Linked DNA regions of Homo sapiens: region 1 is linked to region 2. The links are contacts of gene promoters, found by promoter capture Hi-C in blood cells and fetal thymus (Javierre and others, 2016). All regions are on one chromosome and are shown on one strand. Each heading gives the region's core, a stretch centred on a gene start or on the middle of the fragment in contact. The rest is flanking DNA. Distances are from core to core; before and after follow the strand shown.

Region 1 (4,483 bases), core at 1,740-4,239, 660 kb after region 2:
CTGTAATCCCAGCACTTTGGGAGGCCGAGGCGGGCGGATCACAAGGTCAGGAGATTGAGACCATCCTGGCTAACACAGTGAAACTCCGTGTTTACTGAAAATACAAAAACATTGGCCAGGCGTGGTGGCGGGCACCTGTAGTCCCAGCTACTTGGGAGGCTGAGGCAGAAGAATGGCATGAACCCGGGAGGCGGAGCTTGCAGTGAGCCGAGATCATGCCACTGCACTCCAGCCTGGGCAACAGAGCAAGACTCTGTCTCAAAAAAAAAAAATAATAAAAAAAATAAAGATTAAAAAGCCAGCCCAGGTAGTGGCTCACACCTGTAATCCCAGCACTTTGGGAGGCAGAGGCGGGCGGATCACTTAAGTCTAGGCATTTGAGATCAGCCTGGCAACATGGCAAAACCCCTTCTCTACAAAAAAAAAAAAATTAGTCGGGCATGATGGTGCAAGCCTGTAGTCTCAGCTACTCTGGAGGCTGAAGTGGGAGGATCACTTGAGCCCAACAGGTGGAGGGTACAGTAAGCCAAGATCTCACCACGGCACTCCAGCCTGGGCAAAAGAGTGAGACCCTGTCTCAAAAACAAAACAAATCAAACAAACAAAAAAATTAGCCAGTCATGATAGTGCCAGCCTGTACTCCCAGTTACTCCAGGTTGAGGCTGAGGCTGCAGTGAGCTGTGACAGTGCCACTTACTCTGGGCTAGGTGGAAATGCGAGACCTTGTCTCAAAAATTAAATTAATAAATAAAAATGTACAACATGCTTTGAAAACTGCAGAAAAACGGACCCTTCCTTTCTTGAGAGTTTCTACACTCTTCCTCCTGGATAAAAATAGCAGAGAATTAGCTACTCCCACATTGGCTCACCACTATCCCATCCCTCACTTTACCCAAGTAACACCAAAAGCTTGATTATCAAGTTAGAACAGGTGACGACTGAGAAACACACAAGAAGAACAATAACAGAGTTATTCACCTTTTAGGGTCGCAGTTTTCACCCTCGTGGTAACTAAATTATTCAGATGATTACCAAGATCATTTTGTTTCTAAAAGCTCATATGCAAGTTTAAGCCTCCTCCCCACTTTAGGAGGACTGGACTTCAGCTTAAAATTTGGACCCCACTACATGCCAGGCAGGCATTGTGCTAGGAGGGCTGGGAAAACAGCCATGAACAACAACAACAAAAAATGCTCCCAATCCAACAGGAATATGCCAGAAGAGCAAGAATAATTCTAAAAGAACAGGTAAAGCTTCCTGAAGGGCTAGCATTCTGGTTTTGCTTTGAATTACTAGTATAAGTCATAGTAAAGAACATACTCAAAAATTACAAATTTTTTTAAAAGCCTTCAACCAGGGAGCACACAGAACAGAAACTTCAGGACCTAAAGCAGGCCGATTCCTAACCCCGGGAGCTACGGACGAGATCAACTTCATCAATAAAGAAGTCCAGCAGCGCCAGCCGCCGTGTCTGGCTGGGCTCCTTGCGCTAAAGTAGTCCAGACCAGGAGGGAAAAATGTAAAACCAACATGGAGGAGGGGCTACTGACGAGTCGGTTCGGGAGCTAAAACCTCGTGGCTCTTTCCTCATGGCGCCAACCAGCCTTCCTGCTCTGCTCTCCCCAGCCGGGAGAAGCATCATCCTGCCTCTCCAAACCAGCACCCAGCACCCAGCTCTCAGGATCCCTTGAGGAACCCGTGCTCCAAATGAAGTTGGAGGGTGTTAAACGGTGGGAAAAACAAGTAGCCACATCTTAAAGGCTGTTAGGGGAGCAAAGAAAGAACCATCTGGGAGGACTCCACCCTTCTCCACCTGCAGAAAAAACCCCGGGTAAAGCTAGGAAGTCATTTCCCTTGTCTCTCCTTGCCTTGCGGATAAAACAAAGGAAACAGGCTCCTAAGAGGGTCAGACACCCATACGATGACCCCCTTCCGTGGATCCAAGACGCGTACGTCCTGGACACCGAAGAGCTTGGAGCCAGTACAACTTTCTCATTGAAGCCGACCACGTTTCCTCTTATAACCTTAAAAAACAGAAGCCCCTACTATTATCGTTTCATTGATGTCACGGCACCTATTTGGCTCTCAGACTTTTACCCGGAAACCCCTGTAATCCCCAGCCCTTGCGTGCAGCCCCACACTGGGCTCCCCTTCCCCGGGATGCCGCCTCGCGCGTTCCCGCCACCCTCGCCCTCTCGGCCGCGCTTCCCGGCTCGCTCCGCCCTCGGCACCAGGCTGCGCCGCGGGGCGAGCACGTCTGTGCCAGACCGGGGCTTGAGGGAGTCCATCGGGGGTTAGTGGGGGATCCTGCGGAAAGCCCTCTCCCCCGACACTGGAGTTGCAAAACAATAAGCATCCGCTTCCCTGCCCTTCCCCCATAGGACCCCGGCCACGAGTTATTAACGCGGGGGGAGAAAAGCCGGAGGAGCACTCCCGCCCTGCGATCGTGGCCGCGTACCCCCGGAACCCCCAAGGCCCGAGTCTTCGCCTGCCCCCGCCGCAGCGCCCCCAGGCCGCGCGGGGCGCACTCGGCGCTGGAGCGCGGCCGGGAGCGGAGGCGCGCGGGCCACGCGGTGGCTGCCGCAACTGACACGGCCCGCGGCCGCCGGCCACATGCGCCGCCCAGGGACAGAAGCCGGGAAGGGAGCGCGGCTCCGGGCCCCGCCGTACCTTGCCGCTAGCTGTTCCCCCGCTGACGCCTATAAGGAAGGGCTCGCCGCCGTTGGGCTGCTGGTGGTTCTGCAGGGTCTGCTCGCTGTCCCCGGCCATGGTTCGCGCCGCCCCTCCTCCCGCTGCCTGTGCGAACGGACGCACGCTCCCCGCCCGCGCCCGCGTCGGACTCCCTCCGCTTTCCGCAGCCGCCGCTGGGCGCTGCCGGGGCTGAGGCCGCTGTCGCTCGCCTGCGAGCCGCTCGGAGCCCGGTGACGGGGCTGGGTTTCCCGAAGGAGCCAAGAGCCTTCCTTTGCCCGCAGCGGCTGGTCCGGTTTACATCCCAGGCAGAGGTCAGCGTGATGCTGCTGCTCCAATCCGGGCGGGCAGCGCGCTGCTATTCGCCGAGGCGGAGGCGGCGAGGCGTCTGGCCCCAGCCTCCGCCCCTCCCGGGCCCCGCCGCCGCCCGAGGTCTCTGCGAAAGGTGTGAGCCCGACCTTCCCTCCCACCCGCCCGGTTAACCCTTTCTCCGACGCGCCCTAGTGGACCCTGGGGGAAAGAAACAGGCTGTTCTGTATTTTAATTTGGTATGCTACCACCTATTTTCAGAAGGGATAAAAAGCTTGAAGGAAATAATAGGCAGATTAGATAAGAAGGAATGGCCCAGGTTTGAGAAGCAAAATTTGAACAAGCTTGAAAGATTAGTGTGGAACGAAGAGTTAATGTCATTTACCCATTATCCAGGCTAAAAACTTGTGTTTCCAAAAAATGAGGGTTCTTTTTCCCTTCTCCCGTTCGCCAAGATAATATGTCAGCCGCTGGCTTTAGATATTTCCTGTCTTGGAAACCCCCCAGCGCCATCCTTTTTAGCAGGCCTGTCCTCGTGCGACTCTCTAGTGAAGGGCAATTTGAGGGGCTTATCTGAAGGGTGCCCTCCGTTGGAAAAGCAATTCCCTTCTAAACCACAGTATCTCATCCCATACACTGAGCTTCCTATGGAGTTAGGGTATCTGAAAACATACTGACATTTTGATCCATTAATATCTTCAATTGAACGGTTTTCCAGAGATTGGCAATCAGTCACTTAGAAAGGCAGTTTCAGACTCCACCTCTGGAGCCAGATTTCTGCATTCACATCCAGGTCCCTGAGCAAGTTACTTAATCTCTCTGTGCTTCAGTGTTCTTATCTGTTAAATGGGAATAATAATGGCAATTACATCCCAGGATTTTTGTGAGAATTAAATGAATTAGTGTATGTAAAGTTCTCAGAACAGTGCTGGTACAGTCTAGGCCCTGTATTAGTGTTTGAAGAGAAAAGGTTTCTAAAGCGCTGAAACTGGAAAGAAAAGTTTTGCTGGGACACACCTGAGAGAGGCAGGACTAGCCTAGTAACTTCCAGTCTCTTCTCCTGTGAACTTGGGACTAGTATCAATGAGCTGATGGGGCCTACAATCTAAAACAGAATTTACGTCAATAGCATTATCTTTTGAAACTTAGTAAATTACCTTAAATTGAAGATTATTTTGAAAAAAATAATTTTCTCTCAAGCCAGGGAAATCGAGGCTGCAGTGAGCCATGATCTCCCCACTGCACTCCAGCCTGGTCAGCAGAGCCAGAGCCTGTGTCAAAAAACAAAAACAAAAACAAAACAAAACAAAAAAAAGGATACCAGAGAAAACAAACTTTTTTCACTTTTAAATTAAAGTTGACACTTGAACAACACTGGTTCAAACTGTGAGGTTCACTTTTATGCAGCTTTTTTTTTAAACCAAGGGCAGATGGAAAACACAATATTTGTGCAGTTTCCTCAGGACTGACTGTGGGACTTCATGTG
Region 2 (4,833 bases), core at 1,669-4,168:
CCTTTGTGAGGGACTAAGTGGCTAAGTTGGCTGGACTTCCTGGGCCAATAGGAACTTCCCTAAGGGGACTTTCCCCTAAGCCAAAATGAGTCACAGCTGCAAGCTAAGGGATTGAAACCTCAACCAATCATATAGGGAGTTTAAGCTCTAGCTGCAGCCTGATGTTTTTAACCAATCAGGCCCGTCAACCCACAAGCGGATTGAAAATAAGCTAGTTATGTAGGACAGAAAAAGGAAAAGACGAGGGGTCATAAGGGGACATAAGCATAAGACAGAAGCAAAAAAACGGCAGCCCTTCCAGGTCCCCTTCCACCACGTGGAAGCTTTACTTTTGCTTTCATTTTACTTTCGCTTTTGCTCTAATAAATCTTGCCACCGCACCCTCTTTGGGTCCGCGGGTTTCTCTAATCTAGCTGTAACACTCGCCACTGCGGCCCACGGCTTCATTCCTGGAAGCCCGTGAGACCAGGAACCCTTCGATCGAGAAAAGACCTTCCATTGGGAGAAGACTTCTCGTCTTATTTCCACCTATAATCTCTTCAAAACATAGCAGTCAGAGTTACCTGCTGAACTCATAAGTCACTCATCTGCTCAAAGCCTCCCAGTGGCTTCTCATCTCACAGAGTAAGTCAGGCTGCTTACAGTGGCCCACGAGGAGCTTCACAGTTTAACTGGCTCTCTAGCTCTCTCTTGCTCTCTCTCTCTCTCTCTCTCAATGACCTCACCCTTCACTTCTTCCCCTTGCACACACTGAACATGCCACACCTCAGACATGCCAGGCACACTCCTGACTCAGGGCTTTTGCCCTTGCTTTTCCCTGGACCTAGGCATCCTTCCCCTAAATAGTGCCAATGCACCCTCTCTACCTTCAAGTCTTTGCTCTTTCTCAAATGCCACTTTCCAAGTCCCTTTCTGGCCCCCTGCTCTTCCTCTTTCTTATTACGCCCTTTTCTTTCCCATGTCACAATCTCTTCTAACTATATAATTGTCTATTTTACTTTATATAAACCTCTTTCGCCAGAATCTGTAAGCTCCAGAAACATAAGGGCTTTTGTTGGTTTTGTGTATTTCCCTATTCCTAGATCCTAGAACAGGGCCTGGCACATGATATAGGCTCAATAAATATTAGTGGTATAGATGAAATTATTAATTCTATGGACCTTCATCCTTCATTGAGAAACAGTGGTTACAGGGAGGGAAGGGGGAAAGAATTGGCTTAAGACCTAAATGATTTACATTTACTCCCTTCAAATGTAAACAACTGCTGACCATATGAATATTCTTGGACAAATCTCTTTATCTCTCTGGGCTTCAGTTCTCTTATGTGTATAAATAATGGGTTAAACTAAGTAGTCTCCATAAACATTCTTACTTTAGTATTCTTTAATTCTCTAAACCTCTTGTCCCTGCACTGTCTCTGGGATTTACTCTCTATCTCTCTCCCTTTTAAATGTTCTTTATCCATTCATCAATTCTATAAGCAATAATTGAGCATATTCAATGGGCCAATCCCTGGTCTGAGCCCTGAGGATATACGGTTGAATAAAATAAGAATTTCCACGGGGGAGAAGGTAAGTGAAGAAAGGCAGCTCATATACTTCAACAAGGTGGTCACTGTTGTCCTATGGAGGCCAGAGCCTTGAGTGTATGTTGGGTGCCGGTGGGAGATGGTGGGGAAGTTGGAAGAGGATGGGGCTGGGCTTCACTCATGGCTGCATAATGCACAGGAAATCCAGAAGCTGACCCTCTATAATAAAGAAGGCTATTGATTTTAGCAGTTTTCTGGTATCAGAGTTCTGGTTTTGTGGCTGTAGTATTTGTAGTAGTGGCAAAACGCTAGCCCATCTCTGCTACAAAACATACAGAGAAGATGAGGCTTCTACAAAAGGCTTAGCTCATTACAGTTGGGGTCAACCTGTCTTTCTGGCTTGATGCCTACCTGAGTGAGCAAGCAAAAAAGATTGCTGGCTGAAGCACTCTCTACCCTGCTCACCCAAGGGCCACCTTAGGACAGCTTCTGACTGATGTTTGGAGAATTTCCCAGGAAGCTAACTTGAGGCAAGGGGAGGACATGAGAAATGGAAGACAACAAATTAAACATTGCCCATCCCTTCTGAAACATACAAAGCCTTCGGAACACCCTCCATTTGCAGAAGATTTATTTCTCGAATTATATATTTAAGGGCCTGAGTCAGTCAATTATCTACCTTCACAGACCTATCTTGCTGCATAAACAGATTTCCATTTCCTGATGCTGTCCTTAAATGGCAAATAGTAAAACACTGGGAGAAGGTGGCTGACATTGCTCTGTAGGTGTCTCTAAAGAGTCTAGTGTGATCTGATGCATCTCCTGGGGCAAACACAGATGCATGTGAGAAGAGAAGGTGCAGAAGGGCTCAGCATATATGGGAGTGGACCATCACCTCTCACTCCAAATCCTGGAGCTGCTTTCTGCTGTCCTTTCTTTTTATGCCAATGATGTAGCCAAAACTGCCTGCATTGTTGTCACTTCAGATTTTGGACTCTTGTAGGGATGTTCTAACATACTCCAGTCCTTGCTTTTGTGGCTTTTCCCTCAGTCATCCAGTCAACAAACCTTTACTGTGAGCCTAGTATAGGCTGCTCTCCAGGCATTGCTAAAGGAACAAATATTAACCTGGCACCGTCCAAACCCAACAAACTCAATACTCTAGCTGGGAGACAAGCATTAAGCAATAATTACAATGCAGTATGTTATAGGCAGTAACATAAATACGTTTAAGAAATGTAAGTGTCACAAGAAATAAAAATGTATAACTTCAAGAGAGGCAGGAACAGAGAAGATTCTCAAAAGAGATGTTATCTGAGCTAGGTTTCTAAGAATCAATAGAAATTTATCACATGGATAAGAGTCAGAACAACTGAGGAATCTGCACATGCACAGGCACAGAAGTGAGCCGCAGTAGACCCATGTGCAGGGAACCACAGGTCCTTAAAGCATTCTCAGAGTGCAGCACAAAAGCCAAGGTACTGAGAGAAGACAGGTTCCCAGGGGTCTGCTGGCGAAGGTGGTATTTGTCATAAGGAAGACTTTTCTTACTGACATGAAGCATCACTGGAGGCTTTCAAACAAGACAGTGCCATGGTCAGGTTGGGGTTTTAGAAATATCACCCTATAAATAGTGGAGAAAAGATCAAGCAGTAAACGTGATCAGAATGAAAGGGGGTAAGTGACAAGTGAAGGTAAGGGCGTGCAAAGATGGAGGAGGCAGACAACACTGGCATTTAGGAGGCAGAGATACAGAGCTCAGGGACTGCTGGATTGCTTGGTTGTGGAAGAAAGGGAGAATGAAGCAACAAGCTGGGTGGCAGGCTCTGATTTGGTGGCTGGCTCAGTGGTGACCCCTCCAACCTCCAGGCCTCTGTTTGGACACATGTGACAACAATGGCCACCCTGTTGGAGTGTATGAACTGCCTTTCTTCACTCACATTCCTCTCTCCAGTTCTGAGGTCAGGGGTCTTATCTTATTCAACAAGTGTCCTGCCCTGTGTTTGGCTTACAGAATATGCTCAATTATTGCTTTTAGAATTGGTGAATGAATAAAGGAAGTCTAAAAGGGAGAGAGAGAGTAAAACCTGGAGACAGTGCAGGGACATGAAGTTTAGAGCATTAAAGAATGTTAAAGTAAAAACATTCATGGAGATTATTTAGTTCAACCTGGTAATTATACAGATGAAGAAACTGAGGCCCAGAGCACTAAGATATTTGTCCAACGTCACACACCTGAGATAATAAGACAGAGTAATGGGCAAGTTGGGGATGGAGAGATGATGAATTCAGTTTGGATGCCATTACATTTGTGATGCTTGTGGTGGTAAATGCAGATTATCATATCCAATGTGCTGTTGGAATGTGATGTTCAAGAGAAGGGTCAAGTCTAGACATACAAATTTGGGATACAGATCATACTAAGACCATACCTCATGAGAACAGGCTGAGTCAGGAGCCAGGAGGGCCACAAGGGGAGCTCTAGTAATCTCAGAGATGGCATAACATGGTAGGAAGCAGCACACCAAATTGATCGGCCTTCCTGTGCCTCAGTTTCCCCAATCTATTTTCTAAGGTTGTCATGTGTTATATAAAATGAATGTATATTTATAAGACAGCAGTGCCTGGCATGAACTAAGGTCTAAGTAAGTGTGAAAATGAATATATAAACACTAATATTTGATGGTGGACAGAGGAAAAAGACTCAGAAAATCAGTAAACTAGGTATGACAAGAATGGTAGGAGGAAATCAGGCAACTATGGGAACATCAATGACCAAGGAAGAGACAGTGTAAAGAAGGCAGGAGCAATTATGTGGCAGATGCTAAAGAAAGACTAAAATCAGAAAGTGCCTATTGGCTTTGGCAGTTGAAAGTTCACTGGTGATTTTAGAGCCTCGTTGGTGGGTGCTCAGGGGGAAGAGGGGTGGGCTGAAAAGTGAGTTAGGGGCAAGAAGTGGGAGGGCTGATGTGGGCAGTTGGCTCAGGGTGAGGCTGGCAAAGTGGAGGAACCCTGAGCTGTTGAACTCCTTTCTAGTGAGGCTCTGCAACAAGTCTCACCTACAACACAGGCCGAGTCTCTTCCCCATCCCAAAGTCATCATCTGTAAAATGAAGGCAAACTTGACCTCCACATTCCTATCAGCTATGATGGTTGAATACTTTTCTTGTTACTAACATATGATGGTGATCAAATTCTTTTTCACTTAGAAATGTACCTGAGTCAGCTAGTGGCATTCTTGTTAAAATCTTGTTTTGAGTTTATGGAAATAGATGCTATGAGGGCTGGTTTATTTTTAAATTTATG

What was found. The method cuts DNA at HindIII sites, captures the fragments that hold promoters and counts their contacts. A CHiCAGO score of 5 or more calls a contact.
Region 1: the fragment with the promoter of UCK2 here is called in contact with a fragment that was not itself captured in region 2 in 1 of 17 cell types (activated CD4 T cells); the score reaches 5.2 in activated CD4 T cells.

What each region holds. Positions count from the first base shown.
Region 1 is chr1:165,826,120-165,830,602 of GRCh38, reverse strand. It overlaps UCK2 (uridine-cytidine kinase 2), which reads right to left and starts at 2,989. Exons shown (of 7, transcript NM_012474.5): 1 at 2,671-2,989. The coding sequence starts at 2,769. RefSeq lists silencers at 2,101-2,330, 2,391-2,870, 2,951-3,200 and an enhancer at 2,082-2,635. The HindIII fragment of the contact is 2,018 bases long and covers 1,256-3,273 here.
Region 2 is chr1:166,485,652-166,490,484 of GRCh38, reverse strand. LINC01675 (long intergenic non-protein coding RNA 1675) reads left to right here and starts at 446. Exons shown (of 3, transcript NR_146890.1): 1 at 446-624. RefSeq lists an enhancer at 274-443. The HindIII fragment of the contact is 5,186 bases long and covers 326-4,833 here.